Regions from separate parts of the Homo sapiens genome. Here region 2 is linked to region 1. The links are contacts of gene promoters, found by promoter capture Hi-C in blood cells and fetal thymus (Javierre and others, 2016). All regions are on one chromosome and are shown on one strand. Each heading gives the region's core, a stretch centred on a gene start or on the middle of the fragment in contact. The rest is flanking DNA. Distances are from core to core; before and after follow the strand shown. Region 1 holds the start of MYOZ1 (myozenin 1). Region 2 holds the start of NDST2 (N-deacetylase and N-sulfotransferase 2).

Evidence for each region. The method cuts DNA at HindIII sites, captures the fragments that hold promoters and counts their contacts. A CHiCAGO score of 5 or more calls a contact.
Region 2: a fragment that was not itself captured here is called in contact with the fragment with the promoter of MYOZ1 in region 1 in 1 of 17 cell types (fetal thymus); the score reaches 5.4 in fetal thymus.

Annotation. Positions count from the first base shown.
Region 1 is chr10:73,638,312-73,645,163 of GRCh38, forward strand. It overlaps MYOZ1 (myozenin 1), which reads right to left and starts at 3,163. Exons shown (of 6, transcript NM_021245.4): 1 at 3,100-3,163; 2 at 1,634-1,724. The coding sequence starts at 1,706. It overlaps SYNPO2L (synaptopodin 2 like), which reads right to left. Exons shown (of 4, transcript NM_001114133.3): 4 at 6,575-6,852. RefSeq lists an enhancer at 5,787-5,836. The HindIII fragment of the contact is 20,057 bases long and covers 1-6,852 here.
Region 2 is chr10:73,806,189-73,813,040 of GRCh38, forward strand. It overlaps NDST2 (N-deacetylase and N-sulfotransferase 2), which reads right to left and starts at 5,410. Exons shown (of 15, transcript NM_003635.4): 1 at 5,286-5,410; 2 at 4,611-4,715; 3 at 1,196-2,541; 4 at 920-1,007; 5 at 469-623; 6 at 101-286. The coding sequence starts at 2,200. It overlaps NDST2-ZSWIM8-AS1 (NDST2-ZSWIM8-AS1 readthrough), which reads right to left and starts at 5,632. Exons shown (of 18, transcript NR_182658.1): 1 at 5,286-5,632; 2 at 4,611-4,715; 3 at 1,196-2,541; 4 at 920-1,007; 5 at 469-623; 6 at 101-286. It overlaps CAMK2G (calcium/calmodulin dependent protein kinase II gamma), which reads right to left. Exons shown (of 23, transcript NM_001367534.1): 23 at 6,313-6,852. RefSeq lists silencers at 4,845-4,914, 5,215-5,924. The HindIII fragment of the contact is 756 bases long and covers 3,845-4,600 here.

The DNA of each region.
Region 1 (6,852 bases), core at 1,913-4,412:
TATTTGTTTTTATTTTTTATTCTTTTTTTTCATTTTTTTGAGACAGAGTCCTGCTCTATCATCCAGGCTGGAGTGGAATGGCGCGATCTCAGCTCACTGCAGCCTCCGCCTCCCAGGTTCAAGCAATTCTCCTGCCTCAGCCTCCCAGGTCGCTGGGATTGCAGGCCTGCACCACCATCCCTGGCTGATTTTTATATTTTTTGGTAGGGATGGGGTTTCACCATGTTGGCCAGGCTGGTCGCAAACTCCTGAGCTCAACTGACCTACCAGCCACGGCCTCCCAAAATGCTGGGATGACAGGCGTGAGCCGTGGCGCCCAGCCTACATTTTATTTATTTATTTATTTATTTATTTATTTATTTATTTATTTATTGAGTCAGAGACTTGCTCTGTCTCCCAGGCTGAAGTGCAATGGCGCGATTGCAGCTCACTGCAACCTCCATCTCCTGGGTTCAAGTGATTCTCCTCCCTCAGTCTCCCAAGTAGCCGGGATTACAGGCACCCGGCACCATGCCCAGTTAATTTTTCTATTTTTGTAGAGACAGGGTTTCACCATGTTGGCCGGGCTGGTCTTGAACTTCTGACCTCAGATGATTGGCCCACCTCAGCCTCCCAAAGTGCTGGGATTACAGGCATGAGCCACCACGCCTGGACTTTTTTTTTTTTTTTTTTTTTAATGGAAATGAGGTCTCATTATGTTGTCCAGGCTGGTCTTGAACTCCTGGGCTCAAGTGGTCCTCTCACCTCAGCCTCCCAAAGTGCTGCGATTACAGGTATGAGACACAGCCCCAGCCCTATTTGTATTATTTATTTTGAGACAAAATAAATATATCTTAGGATGAACTCTGTCACCCAGGCTGGAGGGTAGCGTCGCAATCATGGCTCACGGCAGCCTCCACCTCCCGGGTTCAAGCGATCGTCCCACCTCAGCCTCTGGAGTAGCTGGGACTCTAGGCACATGCCACTACACCTGGCTAATTTTTGTACTTTTTGTAGAGACGAGGTTTTACCATGTGCCTAGGCCAGTCTCAAACCCCTGAGTTCAAGCGATCCACCAGCCTTGGCCTCCCAAAGTTCTGGGATTACAGGCGTGAGCCACTGCACCTGGCCCAGACTTCTGTCTTAACTACTTTCCCTTTTCTTTCCCTCAGTGAGCTCTGGCTCCAAAGAGTCTCTAGGTATTGAAGAGCTCTTCACATGCATGCACCCCTGCCCACCCCCAGGAAACATGCCTGTGCAGTTTTCCATTTTAAGTACTTACACAAGCTCCCTAGCTCTGGGGAAAGAAGTAAGGGAAATTAACCACTTATTGAGACCTGAGTCTGTGCCAGTCTCCATTATATTTTCTTCCTCAAATATACCTCACTGACTCATGGGTCCTGTGGTCCTGGACCTGTGCAGGTAACATGGCAGGGTATTGTCTCAGATTATGAAGTGAAAAGGGTAGAAGGTGTTGAATCTTTTCTCTCTTTCTCCTTACCCTTCTTAATCTTCCCTCTCCCACTCCCCATCACCCGCCTTCCCACCACTTAATTTCTCTTGTTTGTTCACCCTAAGATATATATTTCTGGGACTCTTGGTTTAGGGATGCTCTTAAGAAGTCCCACACTAGGGAGATGCAAACATGTCCTACCTCCAGTGAGTTCCATGATCAGCTTGCTGGATTTCCTCTTCTTATTAGGGGCCGGGGTTCCTGAGAGCGGCATTGTGGAGGTGGATTCAGCCTGGACAGGGTGGGAAGGAGGAGTTGGTGGATGGACAGGGACTGGGAAGAGTGAGTGTCTGTAGGAGAGCAGCACTTCTTAACCTGGGTTTAAGGGCTTGAGGGGACAAAAAAATTTTTTTTTCTTTTTTAGAGACAGGATCTCACTCTGTCGCCCAGGCTGGAGTGCAATGGCACAATCATGCCTCACTGCAGCCTCAACCTCCCTGGGCTCAGGTGATCCTCCAACTTCAGCCTCCCAAGTAGCTGGGACTATAGGTGCGCACCACCGTGCCTGGCTAATTTTTGTATTTTTTGTAGAAATGTGGTTTTGCCATGTTGCCCAGGCTGGTCTCAAACTCCTGGGCTCAAGCAGTCCTCCTGCCTCCCAAAGTGCTGAGATTACAGGGGTGAGCCACTTCACCTGACCCAGATTTTCAAAGAAGCATGTATTTCCCCAAAAGGTGAAAACTTGCGCTTTAGGGCTTCTCTTTTCTTGGGATACAGGACAGGAAGTATAGATGCACACCAGCCCCTGTTGTCTACCAACCTGTTGTGAGCTGTTTTTCATAGAGTCAGTGCAGGAATTAGGAACATAGCTAGGTGTGGGGAGTGTTTAAAAAACAATAACACAAGCAGGGCAATGCACCCAGGTTTCATTGGCTTGGCATGATTTGAAGTTTTTATTTGCACTGGGATATCAGACTGGGGCTGTGATTCCAGGCTCTGGTCTCTCCTCAGTCTTCCCCCAGTCCCCAGGAGGACAGAGAAATATTCTGCCAGGGTTGAGGAGATTCAGCCAAAAACACTCTCCATAGGAAGGAGAGGTTGTTGCTCCTTCATCAGGCCAGCTGGAACATGGCCTGGGAAGTCATGGCCCTGCTCCTGCAATCACTCCCGCCACAGACCCCAGAGTGGAGGCAGGTGTGGAACTGGGAAGGGTAGGGAGCATTCAAATCCCGACACGTCAATTCAGCAATATCATAGCAGTGGGGAATTGAGGTGGGGCAGAAACATAGTAATAGGATCTGGCAATGGAAAGGGACAAACTGGGATAAGATGGACTCCAATCCCTTCTTAAGAGAAGTTGGCACTCAGTGAAATGCTGTCCTCTTCTAAGTCCTGTCTCAAAAAATACATCTGCAACTCTACTGACTTAGTGGGGTCTCCCTTCCCATTCTTCCAGTGCCTCCCCCGACATCTCCATTCCCCCCAACCTCCTGGGCCCCTCTCCTTCCAACTCTCCTTCCCCTCTCCTTCCAACTGGACAGCTGGGAGCTGAGCATAGATGAGGAGAGGGGAGACTCCCCCAGGATCAAGAATCACAATTGTAGACACAGACACAGAAGTCAACACAGTGGGCTCCAGCCTTTCTAACGATAGAGCTGGAGACTTACCGGCTGCTCGGGCAGTGGTCAGCTCTCCCTGGGGTCCAGCAGCTTTGGAGGACTGAGCTGCTGTGACCGGAGAACACGAGCTGGGCAGGCGTGGGGGCAGCACTGGCAGTGGGGGAGGGAAGTTGGTTATTAATAGAGATGATGAGCGCAAGCAGCTCAAATGGCACAGGGGGTACTGAGACCCTGGAACCAAGATCCCTCCCTCCTTGCCCGGAGGCTCAGGAAGGAGGGAAAAGGCCTTTGGGATTCTCCCACTGAACTGTCTGAGCCAGGGATCAGTCTGCCCAGGGACTCCCCTTCACATTGCACCTAGAGCCTGAGATCCAAAGAAGCACTTAGGGAGAAACTGAAGACTGAGAGGGAGACAGGAAGTAGACAGCAAGTATTGGATAGGAATTCAGTCAGAGAGAGAGAGTCTGGGGAACATGCCCTGAGGGCCACACAGAGCCAATCCAGGGCAGAGTGGAGAGACCTGTGGGTGTATTTGGAGCAGGGAGGGCTTAAAGTGCTATATTTGGGGACAAAAAGGGAAGTCTTCACAGTGGAACTGCTCTTTTAAAGTTCCTGGATAGGTTGGTCTTTTCTCGGTAAGGGCTAGATCTTGGCAGGTTAAGGGACCAAATTAACTAAACCCAGTACCTCCTACAAAGGAATGATGTGGGGAAGACTTGACAATTATTCTGTCTGCCTCACTCCCTATTCTTTCCTCTTGAGCTCTGGCAGTTTTAATAAAAGACAAACACTTGGATCTGCATTTTTTTTTTTTTTTTTTTGAGATGGAGTTTCGCTCTTTTTGCCCAGGCTGGAGTGCAGTGGTGCGATCTCGGCTCACTGCAACCTCCACCTCCTGGGTTCAAGCAATTCTCCTGCCTCAGCCTACTGAGTAGCTGGGATTACAGGTGTCCACCACCATGCCCGGCTAATTGTTGTATTTTTAGTAGAGACGGGGTTTCACCACGTTGGCCAGGCTGGTCTCAAACTCCTGACCTCAGGTGATCCACCCACATTGGCCTCGCAAAATGTTGGAATTACAGGCGTGAGCCACCGCCAGGATCTGGTCTCTAAGGAGTTATTCTCTAGCCACCACGCCCAGCCAGGATCTGCCTTTTAACCTCCATTTGCTGTTGAGATGCTCAGTTCAACCTGCTGTGCGGGATAGACATCGATGTCTCCCTGAGAAGCACATATAGGCTCTCTGAGGTTTCTTTTCTTCTTCTTTTTTTTTTTTTTTTTTGAGACGGAGTCTCGCTCTGTTGCCCAGGCTGGAGTGCAGTGGCGCAATCTCGGCTCACTGCAAGCTCCACCTCCCAGGTTCACGCCATTCTCCTGCCTCAGCCTCCCGAGTAGCTGGGACTACAGGCGCCCACCAACACGCCCGGCTAAATTTTTTTTTGTATTTTTAGTAGAGATGGGGTTTCACCGTGTTAGCCAGGATAGTCTCGATCTCCTGACCTCGTGATCCATCCATCTCAGCCTCCCGAAGTGCTGGGATTACAGGCTCTCTGAGGTTTCTACTTGAGATTTCCTGCAAAGGGAGCACATACCACATAGGATCTGGACTGTGCCATTTGTACTGTTCCAGCGGAGTCTCTGGGCAGGGCCACAGGCTTGAAAGCCCCTTTGGGGAAAGCCTATCATTTCCCCAGGCCCTTCTTCAGTAGCTGCATGATCTTCCTCCACCTTCTGCTTAGATTCTGGAACCAGTTGCTGCAGCACTTCTGCTGCAGCCACCACAACCCTGTTGCTGCTACCTGAGGAAGTGGCTTTATTTATTTATTTATTTATTTGAGACAGGGTCTCACTCTGTTGCCTGTGCTGAAGTGCAGTGGCACAATTTTGGCTCACTGCAACCTCAGCCTCCCCAGGCTCAGGTAATCCTTCGACCTCAGCCTCCCAGGTAGCTAGGGCTGCTGGTACATGCCACCACGCCCAGCTAATTTTCATATGTTTTGTAGAGACAGGGTTTCACTATGTTTCCCAGGCTGGTCTCAAACACCTGGGCTCAAGCAATCCTCCTGTCTTAGCCTCCCAAAGTGCTAGGATTATAGGCGTGAGCCACTGTGCCTAGCTGGCTTTTTAAAAAATTATTTCTTTCTTTATTTTAGAGATGGGGGTCTCACTATGTTGCCCAGGCTGGACTTGAACACCTGGGCACAAGTGATCCTCCTACCTCAGCCTCTGAGTAGCTGGGACTACAGGCACGCACCAGGAAGTGGCTTTTGTAACTTCCTTTGTCCCCTTCTGAGCTCTTTACTCTTCCTGACCATGTCCTTTTTCCATCCTGTGGAGACCCTAAAAGGTATCCCCTCACAGTTGGCTTCTGCCCAGGCTAGTTATGCCTCCAGACCCCTCATCTTTTGTCCTCCTCCATCCCCTCCCAACCCAAGGAAGCAATTAGAAGATAAAATAGGCCGGGCGTGGTGGCTCATGCCTGTAATCACAGCACTTTGGGAGGCCGAGGTGGGTGGATCACTTGAGGTCAGGAGTTCAAGACCAGCCTGGCCAACATGGTGAAACCCAGTCTCTACTAAAAATACAAAAACTAGTCAGGCATGGCGGTGCGTGCCTGTAATCCCAGCTACTTGGGAGGCTGAGGCAGGAGAATCACTTGAACCCAGGAGGCAGAGGTTGCAGTGAGCTGAGATCGCACCACTGCACTCCAGCCTGAGCCACAGAGGGAGACTCCATCTCAAAAAAAAAGAAGAACTATAAATAGCTAAAGGTGACTTCATCATCACTACCACCCTCACCCTCAAAAACAAAAACAAACTGAAAGTTTGATCTCCTTCAACTGAGTACCCAAAACGACTGAGTGGGTGAAGACAGGCTATTTAACCTATGGTCTCTGAGATCTTTTTTTGGAATTCTAAGACAGTGCACTTGGAAGAGTCTGCGGCCTGGGTCTGATTATTGGCACAAATGTGCCCTCTGCTGGCAGAATCAGAGCAATGGCACTTTCCTTCTCTGAAGTCTAATTCTCACCTACCTCCAACGCCCTCCCTTCTTTAGTAGTCTCAATTCAGCTTTATTCTTCCCTCTCCCATCCCACCTTCCCCTCCAGCCCTCCAGCCATTGCTTTCTCTTCATTTACTTCCCAGAGACTGTTTAATATGGTTGCTTCCTCTAAGGAGCGAGGAAATGTTGATAGCAAAGGGCTCAGAGGGCCTTTCCAACTTCTCTGAGTTCTGTGAACTGAAGCCTTACCTAGAAAGTATGAGGCAAGGGAGGGAAAGGGGAGAACTTGGATGAAGACTGTGGGGAGAGGGAACCAAGAAGAGTGATGGAGGTGGCTAAATCAAAGCAGGACAGAATTTGTATAAAAGAGCAAAAGACCTGGGAACAAAGGGCAAAAGGATGAAAAATGGGAGGGCAGGAAAAGAGACAGATCAGAAATCAGATCAGGGGAATGGGTTAAAGAAGATTAAGGAGAGATCAGGATTTAGGAATAAAACTAGAAGATAACAGCAACAGAAGGTATGGGGCATAAATTTATTCTTGTGCACAAACCAAAGTATTGTGACTCACACCCAACAAGCAAAGGAAATTATCACTTTCCAGATTACACAGCAAACGTAGCTGGTGGTGGTCTTGGTGAGAAGGGAGTCCATACTAAGATTGGAGATCAGGACCTGAAGCTGAAAAGAAGCAATAGCTGGGGTTTTGAGGGATGGGGTGGGACTGAAAGGAGGTTTTGGCTCTGGGTATTTCCCTACTCTTTCCCAGGCAGTCATGGCAAGCTGCAGAAGACACACT
Region 2 (6,852 bases), core at 2,973-5,472, 170 kb after region 1:
CATACTTGGACTGGCAGTTGATAGAGAACATAGGTCAATGCATGTTGAAAGCTGTCTAAATGTTAGAGTTTGATTCAAGCCTGTATTGGGAGTCCCTCACCATAATGCCATTGTGAATGAAGCCACGGCGGTAGCGGGCAGGGCGGAGATGGGGATACTCCTCAGTGCTGGTCACCTGGATGCCCCACACGGATTTCCAGGCCTCATAGAGCTGCGTGTGGATGGGGTACACACCCGAGTGGTGGGGGGCCACAGCATACCCCAGGTCCGTGGGAATCCCATGCTCCTGGGAATGGCATAGACTCTCACCAGGACCTGGTGAGGTTTGGGGAGTAGAGGGTAAAGAGGGTGGGGAAGCCTCCAAATAAAGAAAAACGCAAAGGATAGGAAAAGGGTAGCCCATTAGGGGAAGGTAGAAAAGGAAGCATGGCTGGGAGAAATTATGGGGAAGAGATCCAAGGGTCTCACCAGAGCAAACTGTTTGTTGAGCCTCATCTGGTCAGCCAGCACGGAGCGATTGTGGAACAGGTGTGGCTGCATGTGGCTCCACATGTGGGGGAACCACCAGAACTCTTTGCGGTGCTTCAGCAGCATGTCGTCCCCTGCATCCTCCTCCTCTGTCCCTATGACCACACGCTGACCACTGACCACAGCCAGTCAGCCCCTGTTCCCTCCTTTATTTTGTAACAACACTGACCACCTTCCATCCCTGATCCTTGCCTAAGACTTTCTATTTGCCCCACTGCCAACTTGCCATCCAGCCACCCATGCGAACCTAAATTCATGCCCACCACTAGCTCCTCACAGCAGTCTGACCCCAAACCTTGACCCTTTTCTTCAACTTGTCTGCCCAGGGAGGTGGACAGTGAAGGGACAGGTCAAACTATGATATGCCAAAGGAGTAGGGGTATAAGCTCACCAGTATGATAGAACTTGCCCGAGAAGCCCAAGTTGAAGGTGAAGTTGGGAACTAAGGTCCTGAGTTTGTTCTGGGTGGTCAACAGAGCCTGGGAAGAGTAGCAGGGACAAGAGAAATCAGGAGAGCAGACTGAACAGGAAATACATGAGAAGTAGCATTCTTCCTGCCTGGAAAGGCAGGGAGTGTACCTATGACAAGCTCAGAATCAAGGAAGGGAGTCTGACAGGCCAGAGTGTGAATAGCTTCTAAGAAAAAAATTTAAGTAACAAGACTGACCTCAACATCAGCCACCTTCATGCGGGTCCCTTCCTTGCCCACAAAGATGTCATCGATGTCTACCAAGATGTAGCGGTCAAGGTCCAGGCAGAGGCGCTTGCCAGTGAGGTATGCAACAGCATCAACGAAGATAAGTTTGTGGAGCCAGAAGGAAAGGCCATGTCCAAAGAGCACCCGCTGGATGCCATCATGAAGCCCCAGGTCCTGTACCACAGTGGGAAGCCGGGCCCGACGAAGAACTGGTCCTGGCACTGCGGGCTCAGCTGGCCGAAGGCTGGCAAGAAGCACTGGTTCATATGTACTATGATTGGATTGGAAGATGGTCCAGTCATCACCAGGCAGTGGCCCTGGTTCTAGGCGGCTGGGGCGTGTGAGATGCAGTAGCGGGGCAGAAGGATTCACTTGGTAGTCCCGGAGCCCCAAGTTTGAGTGTAAAAAAAGGGGAAAGCCCTTGAGCTGGGCGCTCAGTAGGCTGTGCTCGTGGGCTCGGAAAAAGCCAATGATGCCCACACCATACTCCACGCAGTACCGGTCTAGCAGTTCCCGACTCCAGGCATCCAGGTTGACATACTTGAGCAGGTTCTCATAAATGACCAAGACATAGCGGCCATGGGTATTATCAGTCAATGTGGGCATGTCCCCTCGGCCAGGTGCCAACTCAGTGCTATAACGAAAACGACTAGACTCCAGGATGGCCACAATTTCCTGCCCCAGCTGTGAGTATGCACTCTCCACAAACACAAGGACCACGGGTTCAGTTCGAGCTGTCTCTGGAGGCCTGGGGGGCCGAGGTGGAACTGGAGGCCGTGCAGGGCCAGGACCAGCTGCCCCACCGCTGCTGCAGTCTCCCAAGGGCAGGGGCAAGGGTTCCTTGGCCTTAGGGCTGGTGGACACATAATAAGCCAGGAAGCCCATGGAGCCCAGGCTGAAAGCGATCAGCAGCAGTATGAGGCGGTGCAGTTCCAGCTGCCGAGCTGGGCGTACCACCTTCCACAACTGGAGCATGGCGGGGGGAGGAAGGGAGGGAGGAATGGGGACCACCTCAGGGGATGGGAGGTAGGAGTTCTATAGGCTAGGACTGTCTTGGAAGGGTAGAAGGATAGGAAAATAGGGGACAGGGATTCCCTTGGGGAGTTTCCTTTACGAGGTGGAGACGAGTCCCCTTAGCATAGGGTAGGGGAGGTAGAAGGGGAAGCAGGGGGCAACTATACAGAGTCCACTTGTCTCAGGTCACCATGGCCCCCTGGCCCATGGCTTCAGGCTGCAAATCTTGCCAGGCTCTCCCCTTGGCCCTGGCTGAGCGCCTCACATCAAAGGTCAGCAAAGTTCAATCTCTTCCCCTCTACCTGTAAGACAGAGAAATCAGTGGGTTACTCCTCCCTCTGAAATTGTCATTAATCCATTCTCCTCCCCATCCCATCTCTCTTACCTCCTGCTTACTGGATAATCTGTTCTCAAAAAAAAAAAAAAAAAAGTTTCCTCTAGGAGAATCTACAAGCTGAGTCCTATACCTTAGCTTCACAGCTTGTTCCCTTTCCCTTTCTTAGAATACCCAAATGAATGTCCAAATTCTCCTCTCTAAGCAAAGCTCAGAGATGGAGCAGTATATGCAAATGATAGGAACAAATCTCCCATCAACAAGAGGCTAAATATCCTAGAAGGCTAAAAACAGGCCTGCTCTGAAAGGAGTTCCTAGCCCATGACCGAGCAGCTGGCAGCCAGCAACAGCTCTGATCTTTCTGTGAGGAAGGGACGGAAAGCCCCGGAAGTCTTCAGAAGTCCCATGCTCCAACAAAATATCAGATAAGGAACTCATGAGTCTGTTAATCTTCTCATCAATCAAACCCAATATCACAGCCAACAGCTTTAACGAACTTGCAGTCAGGTGGACACTATGGTGGGGGAGTTCAAAAGGAAAGAGCAATCCTCATGATAGGTAATCATTCTACCAGTTTCCAAACCCAGAAATTAGGGACTCCCTTACCCGTTGCTTGTGAAACATTACCTGCCCCTGACCTTCACCTCAACTTTGCCAGTCAGGAGATAAAAATGTAACCCCTGAGCAGGCCACACACTGGGTGCTGAGAAAAGCCATACAGCTGAGTCCACTCTACTTCTCCTTCCTAACTTAGCCTAAGTAGTTCTACAACCCTATTCCTAAACAGCTCAGAAGAGTCCCTGAGCTAGTCTGGAGAGACATGAGGTATTGAGTCCAGTTACACAAACAGAACAACTTGAGTAAGGACTGGATGACAGAGAGCAACAGGAGCTTAAGTCACATCCAACCAATGACAGAAGGAAAAAGGACAGTGTGATCAGAAAACAGTTTTAAGGAGGTCTAATTTTGGGGATCTCTTTTATTATTTTTAGATGGAGTCTTGCTCTGTCACCCAGGATACAGTGTGCTAGTGTGATCATAGCCTACTGCAGCTTCAAACTCCTGGGCTCAAGTGATCCTCCCACCTCAGCCTCCCATGTAGCTGGGACTACAGCTTTGCACCACCACACCCTACTAATTTTTAATTTTTTTTAGAGATGGGGGTCTTGTTACGTTGCCCAGGCTGGTCTTGAACTCCTGGGGTCAGACAGACAATCCTCCGGCCTCAGCCTCCTGAGTCTGTTCTTTTTCTTAAATCGACTGCTTCTGTAAGCTTTATTGTCACTATCCCCACTCAGCCTCCTTGTAAGGCTGGCAATCCCTCTCTACCACCCACCCCCAAACACACATCTCAGGGGTGATAAGGCAGAGCTGAGGTCCTTCAGAATTGACAGAGATGATTTAAAAACAGTTCAGGACAGGCGTGGTGCCTCACGCCTGTAATTCCAGCACTGTGAAAGGCCGAAGCGGGTGATCACTTGAGGTCAGGAGTTCGAGACCAGCCTGGCCAACATGGTGAAGCCCCGTCTCTACTAAAAATACAAAAATTAGATGGGCATGGTGGTGGGCGCCTGTAGTCCCAGCTACTCAGGAGGCTGAGGCAGGAGAATCACTTGAACGTGGGAGGCGGAAATTGCAGTGAGCTGAGATTGTGCCACTGTACTCCAGCCTGGGTGACAGAGCTAGACTCCAGCTCAAAAAAAAATAAAAATAAAAATAAAAATAAAACAGTTCAGCTTTGGCCTAGGTAAAACGACACGAGAAGACAGCTGGGGGAGAGGATCAAAATGGTGACGGGAAGGGGTGAATGCTAAGAATGTGATGCAACTTTAGAGAAAACATTGTAGTGAGGAGGTCACTGACGGGAAGTTGATACTCAGGGTGTATCATCCCGTATTTGAGAAATTACAACTTGCCAGCCATTCTTCTAAGAGCTTCACATATATTTAATCTTCACACCAGCCCTAAGAGGTAGGGAAAAGGTACATGCTCCATTATCCCCATTTCACATATGAGTAACTCAGAGAAGCTTAGAACCTTGCCCAGGATCACACAGCTCAGTTGGTGGGAGGGCTGGGATTCGACGTCAGGCCTGTCAAGCTCCAGAGCCGCGTTCTTAGCCGCTGCATTTTAGCTTCATACCTGGAAGAAGCAGCAAGGTTTAGGGAAGGGGCGCCGGGAGCGCCGCAGGCCGGGCCAGTGAACACTGAGGGCCAGCAGGGCTGGGCGGGGTGGGTGTGTGCGGGAGATCTCTGAGGACGGCGAAGCCAGACGGGGGCCGGGGCCGGGCCCGGGCTTGGGGAGGCCGGGACGGCCGGAGCAGCGGCGCGGAGGCTGCGGGCGCCGAGGGGGCCCGGGGCTGGCGGGTGGAGGGGCCCCGCCGAGAGGAGACGGGGGCACAGGTGGATGCGAAGAGCGCACCGGATGTGGGACACCAAAGGGGAAGGGGCCACAGGCGCGCGGCGGCGACTCCGGGGTGACATCGAGACAGCCTCTGGGCTGGGAGAGCCCTGCGGGAAGAAGGGAGCCCGCCCGGTCCGGAGGGGAGCGAGGCGGTTCTGAGGGAGGCCGGCGGAAAGGACCCGGGGCGCGGCGCACGCTGGGCCGCCCGGGACGACCCTGCGGGTGGTGATGGTGGCAACATCCAAGGGAGTCTGTTGGGGGGGCCTGAGCGCGACCGTGGGCGGGGGGGTCTCCTCAGGGGCGGCTCACCCGGAGGACTGGGCGGCGTCCCCGCTGTCCCCGGGCTCCGCCGCGTCCCGGGGCTGCCCGGCTTCCCTGCTTTCGGGGCCACGGGCCGCGTCGCGGCTGCTCCGCCATCTCCGAGCGAACGCTCTGCCGCAGCCTGGCCCAACCACCGCTCCCACCGGGGGAGGCGGCGCGCCGCCGCTGGTGGCACCCGCTCGGATCCACCGGCTCCGGCCCTAGCAGCCGCGCGACCTGGGTTCCGGGAAATCAAGCGGCCCTCCGCAGTGCCGGGCCGAGCCGCGGCCTCCGAGACGGCGGGCTCCGCGCCCCGCCCGCGGAAGCGCACCCCCTCCTCTCCGCGCGATGGCACTGCCGGCCGAGCGTCGGGGACCACGACTTCGGAGCAGGGGCGGGCTCAGGCCTGGGCTCATCCACTCAGCCCCGCGGAGGGGGAGCCGGGCCGGCCCACTCGGGGGAGGGGAGGAGTAAGAGGCGGAGCGGCCTAACCGGAGGCGGGACCAGGGGCGGGGCGAGGCCCTCAGCCGGCTCCCAGGGCACTCACCCTCCCTCCCCGCCCCGCGTCGCCTGCGCAGCACCGAGCGCTGTTTGGAGGCTGTTTATGAGAAGTTTTTTTTTTTTTTTTTTTTTTTTTTTTTTTTTTTTGAGACGGAGTCTCACTCTGTCGCCTGGGCTGGAGTGCAGTGGCGCGACCTCGGCTCACTGCAACCTCCCCCTCCCAGGTTCAAGCGATTCTCCTGCCTCAGCCTTCCGAGCAGCTGGGATTACAGGCGCCCGCCACTATGCCCAGCTAAATTTTTTGTATTTTTTAGTAGAGACGGGGTTTCACCATATTAGCCAGGCTGGTCTCGAACTCCTGACCTCGTGATTCGCCCGCGTCGGCCTCCCAAAGTACTGGGATTACAGGCATGAGGAAGTTTTATTCTCAAAAGTACCCAAAGGGAGTAGGAGGAGGTACTCTCTCCAACCTGGTAAGCCAGGCTGCTAAAATCTACGCCTCTGGCCGTAAACCTCCAACAGCAGTAACACAATGGACTGTTTAAAGGTTATTTTATTAAATATTTTCAGTTCAAGGTTTCATTGTAACAAAGCTATGAAGGGTCTACCAACATTCAGAACAAACACTATTTTTAAATTATTTCTATGTTGTCATGCAAAAATTCTGCATCAAATGCCTTCCGTTTCTTGTTTAAAAGGTGATTTTTTAATAGTCTATTGTCTATAGATGCTGACATTAGCCCCAGAAGAGGAGTAAGAATGCTAAGAAGTGGGGCTGGAGCAGCCATATGAAGCTATGGGTCTCAATGAATTCTAAGACCATTTGTCTTCAAGCCAGCAAAACGAAACCCTGTGGTGAAGGGATTTGCGTGCTGGCACTGCAGACTGCAGGGCAGGAAAGGGCTAGGGCCCAGGGGCTGGGACATGCATGAGGTGCTCGGAGGAGCCTGGCTAAATCCAAGCACCAGCACCTGTGAGTCTGCTCTCTTCTCAGCTGGCTCCCAAGTAAACCTGTAGCTTTGCCTCTTCTCCCAGCTCTCGTGCCTCCTGAAGGTAGTCCAGGGAACTGGAATCT